2 separate regions of the Homo sapiens genome follow, and region 1 is linked to region 2. The links are contacts of gene promoters, found by promoter capture Hi-C in blood cells and fetal thymus (Javierre and others, 2016). All regions are on one chromosome and are shown on one strand. Each heading gives the region's core, a stretch centred on a gene start or on the middle of the fragment in contact. The rest is flanking DNA. Distances are from core to core; before and after follow the strand shown.

Evidence for each region. The method cuts DNA at HindIII sites, captures the fragments that hold promoters and counts their contacts. A CHiCAGO score of 5 or more calls a contact.
Region 1: the fragment with the promoter of KNCN here is called in contact with the fragment with the promoter of FAAH in region 2 in 1 of 17 cell types (M0 macrophages); the score reaches 5.1 in M0 macrophages.

What each region holds. Positions count from the first base shown.
Region 1 is chr1:46,550,282-46,553,600 of GRCh38, reverse strand. It overlaps KNCN (kinocilin), which reads left to right and starts at 1,954. Exons shown (of 4, transcript NM_001322255.2): 1 at 1,954-2,536. The coding sequence starts at 2,386. The region is part of intron 3 of MKNK1-AS1 (MKNK1 antisense RNA 1); the gene reads right to left. RefSeq lists an enhancer at 3,192-3,319. The HindIII fragment of the contact is 11,434 bases long and covers 1-3,319 here.
Region 2 is chr1:46,392,771-46,396,077 of GRCh38, reverse strand. It overlaps FAAH (fatty acid amide hydrolase), which reads right to left and starts at 1,761. Exons shown (of 15, transcript NM_001441.3): 1 at 1,535-1,761. The coding sequence starts at 1,729. RefSeq lists an enhancer at 1,360-1,873. The HindIII fragment of the contact is 1,150 bases long and covers 839-1,988 here.

The sequences.
Region 1 (3,319 bases), core at 705-3,204, 160 kb before region 2:
GTCTTGGATTCCCCACCTATATGAAGAGCTGGGACGGCCCTGGTTCTGTGATCTTGGAACTGAAAAAGGCTTAACGTGCCTCTCCTTTGAGATCACAGTGTTTTCTGAGATCTGAAGCAGTGCACAGGTGCCTCTGCCACCCCCATCCCCATCACCAGACAAGGCAGTGGGCTCAGGGAGGTGGAATGGCTGGCCCGAGCCCCATAGTGCGAGGTGGAAAACGCGGCCCCAAGAGCTTCTATCTTGGTGAGGGTGTGAGAGAGTCGCCCTCAGCCTTAGACTTTGAGAGGAGCAAGGAACACGTTTCATGGACAATTATTTTGGTGGCTCCTTCTAAAACTAAGTCAGTGGGGGATCAATTATGTGTGACAGAGACATGGGCTATGATTTGATGCCTAATTAGAGGAATAATCAGATCTCATCCAGGCAGGAGGCACAGCAGATGCTGGCAGCAGCACCGTGGCTGGGGAATGCCCAGCTCCAGGGGTGTTCCCTCTGTGGGGAACAGGAACACAGTCCAGGGCCCATCTGTGTGCTGCAGTCACCCCTCTCTACAGACTCATCATGAGCCGAAGCTCCAACTCAGGTGACCCTGGGCCTTCTCAGGCCCCCTTCTCCACATACAAGGAATGCCTCTTGTTAGAGACAGAGGTTCCCTTGTGTCCACAGCCCTCCTCTTTGATGACTGGAGGTGGTTGTGCAGTCCAAGCCCTCTCCCTGAACTCTGTCCTCATGTTCAGAAGCCTAGCTCAGGTCCCTCCCAGCCACAGCATTCTGGGGAGCTCACTCCTGGAACCTGCCCTCAAGGGGCTCTCAGCCTACAGAGGAGATAGAACAAGAACAGGGCAGCCATGGAGGCAGGTGGAGGAACAAGAAGTTGAGCCTGGCAATATGAGACTGCAGATGCAGTGCAGAGAGGGGGCATCCAAAGAGAGGCCAGGGAGGCTGGCGACGGGACTCCGAGCAGGATTATGGGACCCTAGGAATTGTGCCCAGGTGCAGGGCCAGGCCGGGGCCATATTCTGAGACTGGGGGGTCCCCAATCCATAAAGGGCCAAATAACGCAATGAATGATAAAGGCTGGAACTGGGGGCCGGGGCAGGGCTCAGGGCTAGGCTGCATTGGTGACCACTGCCCAGCCTTGGGGTGGGGCATCCTGCAAGTAACTCAGACAGGCTGGGTGCAGGTGCTCAGTTCAGCGGATGGGAAGGCACCAACCATGACCCAGCCTCCCACTCCCGGCACCTAGCCCCTACCAAGTCCTCTTCTCTACCCTACCCCTTAGGTGTTTTCCTCCTGCCCACACCAGCACCACCACTGCTCTTCCCTTTCACTCCCAGTCGGGATCCCCAAGGTGGCTAGAAGGGTTCACTCTCCATTCCACTGGCCACTAAAAGGGGGGTGGGTACCAAGCCCACCTGAGGACAAGGGAGTCCCCTGAGATCAAGCCTCAAACTAGGACGCCCTCAGCCCTACCTGGGAGCCCAGAGGTGGACAGGATGGGGATGGGATGGGCAGGGGTAGGGAGCAGACTTGGAGGGATGCCTCTCCCTGTCCGCTTTCCATACCAGGTGCAGTTCCTGTCTCTTGAGCCTCCTGCTGTGTGTCTATCTCAGACTCCAAGCAGAGACCCCAGGTGCACCTCCAGGCCAAAGGGCAGAGCACATTACAGCGGGCCCTGAGCATGTGATCAGGAGTCTCCTCACATCCCTGGCTTCTGAACGACATGCAAAGCCACCAGCTCGTTCTTCCTCCTCAGGAACCAGCAGTGGAACCTGGGCTGACTGCCCGCTGGGCCCTGGGACCCAGACAGCCACTCACATTGCAACCTCATGAATAACTCAGCACCTCCCTGCTGCCTACATCTCTGAGGAGCCTGTGGCCGCTGGACCAACTCCCCCCTCACCCTGCCTCTCATTGCTTTAAATTTTCATAGGCTGAGGTTCAGTGGCAAGTAAGTGGCTCTAGGAAGCTGGGGCAGGATGTCCTGGGCAGGGGAGCTTGAACTCTCCTGGGTGGAGGCTGGCAGGGAAGGATCCTATGGAACAGGCCCAGCTCCCTAGAACTCTGGCAGCCAAAGCAGAAATGTAGCCAGACAGGAGTCCCAAGGGTGGGCTTCAGCTTCAGAGGGCTTTGAGAGAGGAAGAGTAAGCTGGGTGACCTCGTACAGATCCCTGGTCAAGGTGGGACTGGGGGGCCCGTAGTGGAGCAGTGGAATAGGACTGCAGATAAATCCCAGGGTTCCCCACCTATCATCTTACTGCCCAGAAACTCCTACCCTGAAGTTGGAGCGCCAACAAGGAGACATCCAAGAGCCCAGAAACTTCCAGGACTTTTCTGGGGCCAGACTGCACCGGCTGGAGGCAGTGCCCCGGGTGGGCCTGCATGGACATCCCCATCAGCAGCAGAGACTTCCGCGGCCTGCAGCTGGCCTGCGTGGCTCTCGGGCTGGTGGCTGGCAGCATCATTATCGGCATCTCCGTATCCAAGGCTGCAGCTGCCATGGGCGGTGTCTTTATTGGCGCTGCTGTTCTGGGTGAGCAGGGGCTGGGCTGGGATAGGGAAGGGAGATTCTGGAGGTGGGGGCAGGGGCATCGTCAGGTGAACAAGGAACAGGGAAGGGCTGGGTCAGCAGGAATCAGCTGGGGAGAACGGAAGCTAGAGGTGTGAGCAAGGCCGCCATCAGGGGCACAGGCGGGAGAGGAGCGACGCGCTGGGGCTCCTTCCAGCCACAGGGAGGAGAAAAGAAGGAGAGCTGGCCGTCACACTCTTTTCTGGCTACTCCCACTGGCTCTCCAGCCCCAAGCTCTAGGCTCCTGGATTTGTGGTGGGATTCATCAGCCTATCTGGGCGGAACAGGGGGTTGATGGCGGCAGGTAAAAGGACAGAGCTCCTGAGGACTCTCTGAGCCAAGACAGGCTCCAGCTCAGAAAAAGGGTTTCGTCTTCTTTCCCTGTTTGCCTCCACAGCAGCTGTGTCCATCTATCTGTGTGGGGCCACGCCCACTGATTGCCCCGCAGTGACGCTGAATGCCATCCCTCACCTCACCTCACCTCACCCCACCCCCCGCCCCCGCCCAGGCCAAAGGCAGGACCAGAAGCATCAGGCTAGGGGGCTTTAGGTATCTACACCTGCGGGTTCTGGCACAGATGCTCATCGGGGGATGGAGCGGGGGCGGGCAAGGCAGGACTGGCTCCACTGCTCCTGCTCCCCAGGTCTGGGTGGGGAGGAACATGCTGAGGACAAGCACCCAGTCCGGCCCTGGGGGCCCTGGGGAAGCGTGGGGACAGCAGAGACGCAGTGGTGGTGTCAGCCAGGC
Region 2 (3,307 bases), core at 512-3,011:
CATCCCCCTCACCGAGATGGTAGAGATAGTGATCAATAAATACTGACGGAACTCAGAGACCAGTGCTGGCGCGGGTCCTCCCTATACTGAGCGGTGGTCCCCTGGGCCCACTGTTCTTTCTCTATACTTTGTCTCTGTGTCTTATTTCTTTTCTCAGTCTCTTGTCCCACCTGAGGAGAAATACCCACAGGTGTGGAGGGGCTGGCCCCCTTCAACATGCAGGGCTACACCCTGGGCTGGCATGCAAGGTGCCTTCCTCATATCTCTCTCCTGTTCCTCTCCACGAAAGTGTGGCTGCAGAGTGCAGCGGGCACCTAGGTTCTAGTTCCAGCTCTGCCCCAACTCAAAAATCACTTGCGGAACATCTGCTGAACACAATTTTCTGTGACTCTTTCTGTCTCCCACCCAGGCACACCCTCCTGAGTCCTGCGGTTCCCAACCTGTAAAGCCTTCCCACCTGTCAGGTCCCACAGATACAGCAAGCCCTCCCTCTCTCAGCACATAAGAAGGCTTTAACTGGGGTCAGTGTTTCACACACCCAGAGGAAAAGCCCCTCTTCAAGCCACATCTTCCAAACCCTCAGCCAGGCCCTTCCACGCCTCCAAACCCACATACTGAGGTGATCCAAAGGCAGCGCAGGGAGAAAAGCTTGTTGACAGACCACCCACGGAGGGCTGGAACTAAACCTGCTCATGGAAAGGGCTTGCCAGGGGTTGGACACCACAGCAGGAGCCAGAGAGACTTCCCTTCTAGCCTGGCTTTGCCAAGATCTCCCTGTGCACTTGGCAGGTTTCTTTCTGGCTCCCTCTTAGGATCCAAATGCACAAATCAAGAAGCTTGAACTCAGCCAGGCGCGGTGGCTCACGCCCAGCACTTTGGGAGGCCGAGGCAGGTGTATCAACTGAGGTCAGGCGTTTGAGATCAGCCTGGCCAACATGGTGAAACCCAGTCTCTACTAAAAATGCAAAAATTAGCCAGGCGTAGTGGCGGGCCCCTGTAATCCCAGCTACTGGGGATGCTGAGGCAGCAAGAATCGCTTGCACCCGGGAGGCGGAGGTTGCAGTGAGCCGAGATCGCACCACTGCACTCTTGCCTGGGAGTCAGAGCGAGACTCCGTCTCAAAACAAAACAAAAAAAAACAAAAAACAAAACTCTAAGCTCTCCAGATCCCCTTGGCCATTACACTCTGCGATTCCAAAGTCCTCAACCCCTGGCATCCCACTGGTTGTCACGCTTGCGTTTTCGCATTCCAATAGGCAGCAATCGTGAGATTCTTTGGCACAAAGCAAAACTCCTCTTTGACCCAGTGAGGGAAAGGCCTTCCACCACCTGCCTTGACACTACCGTTTCCTTTCTTCCCCCGTGCTCTACCTGGCTCAGAAAGTGCGGAATATCTTAGGGCAAGGAGAGATTCTGGAGAGTTACACATCTGCTCTGCCCGCCCCATCCCCTGTCCCTCGGCGGGTCCGGCGGCTGAAAGTGCCGCTGCGAGTACCCTCAGGCCGCGCCCATCCCACTACGCTCCGGCAGTCACCTGGAGCCGGAAGCGCTGCGCCGCCCTGTCCATGTTCTCCAGGCCCGCTCGCTGCCTCTGTCGCGCCCGGACCACCGCGCCCCGCGCCGTCCGGCGCCCGGACCAGCGCAGGGCCACGGCCGCCGCCACGAAGCAGCAGGCCAGGGCGACCCCGGAGGCGCCAGGCAGCGCGGCCCACAGCTCGTACTGCACCATGATCCCTTCAGCCTGCTGCTGCCTACCGCGACAGTTGAAGCCGCCGCACGCGCAGCCCGCCCGCTCCGCCGCAAAACCCGGACTGGATCAGCCGGGATCCCACGCCCGCCTGCGCGGGAGGGGCGGGGAAGCGCGCCAGAGCCTAGAGGCTATCAGAGGCGGCCCGCCTGGCATCGCCCCCAGCGACATCCCGCTCCCCGCCAAGCCGAGCAGGCGGGTGGGGAAGGGCGACTGTTTCTCGTGGGCGACCTCCCAAGCTTGAGTTTAGCACCGGTTGGGCACCACAGCCCCGGCCGTCCTCTGCCCCCTGCACCCCAGAGCCCCAAATGCTGAAGACTGCGCCCCAGCCGGAGCCCCATGCCAGACATGCCAGCTGTTAGATATGAGTTCTAAATTTATCTTAAAAGAATCAATATGTCAGTATCTTCAATTCTTTGCCTTCTACTTTTAAACTTAACTTCCTCATAAAGCAACATTTTTCGATTACCTGCTCCTCCCTCACTCATTCTTCACCGTGGTTCATTCCGATTTCCTGCTCTGCGGTAACCATTTTTCCCGCCAAACCACTCACCCCCTCACTGTCTTTAAATTAGCCAATCGGAATTAGTTTAGCCTATAGGTCTAACCCTAGCCAACAGGGGAAGGACACAGCATCAGGAATCACGTGGGTCAGGCATAAGAACCACCTTCCCCTCCCTTGTCCAGGTGTGCGCTCACCTTTGCTCCGTCTGTGAGGGCGCACCCTTCTATAGAAGTAAATTGCCTTGCTGAGAAGAAAAAAAAGAAAATTTTATATTCGAGTGCTATTTCTTTTGCGGCACTGGGGGGAAACTTTATTTATAACAATTTGGGGGCTTGCTCGTGATTACATTCCCCTTCAGGGGCAGTCTCTGGTTCTCTCTCCTGAGGAGGTATGCCCCACCCTCTTGTGATGGCCTCAGGGGTGAGAAATCAGGACTCACCCAGTGCAAGAAATAACCTGAGCTCTCAGCAATGTGAAAAGAAACCAGCAGGCAACCTAGGGTAAAGCATCCTCACACACTGCAGAGACAACTCTGTGCACAGACAAAGGAAGAAGCCGAGGGAGCCGGTAAGGTACTTCCTTGGTGGTCAAATTCTGGAGGGCTAAATGTGTGTGTGCGTGAATGATCACAAACAACCCTACCTGTGGTGTTGTTCGTGTGGATGATGACAAGTCCTACTGCTGGACGGAGTGAGTGGGTCCTCTCCACGTTTCCGTAGCTACCTCATATGGCTTAGGGAGGATCCTGCGGTGGGATTTCTACTGGAATGCCAATGCTGAGGGGGGCCTAATTCTCCCTTGGGGGAGCAGCCAGAGAGGACAACACGAGTGGGAAGTGTGCAAAGGACCTTCAGAGGGGGAAAGGGAGGAAACAGGTCAACCTTCCAGGGAAGCAAGGCAAGACACCTCCTAGTTTGAGGGATTGAGCCTTCCAGGGCAGCAAGGCAAAACACCCCCTGGTTTGAGGGGTTGAGCCTTCCAGGTCAGGCAAGGCAAGATACCCCCTGGTTTGAGGTGTTGAGCCTTCCACAAATTTCAGGGGATCAAAAACCTCA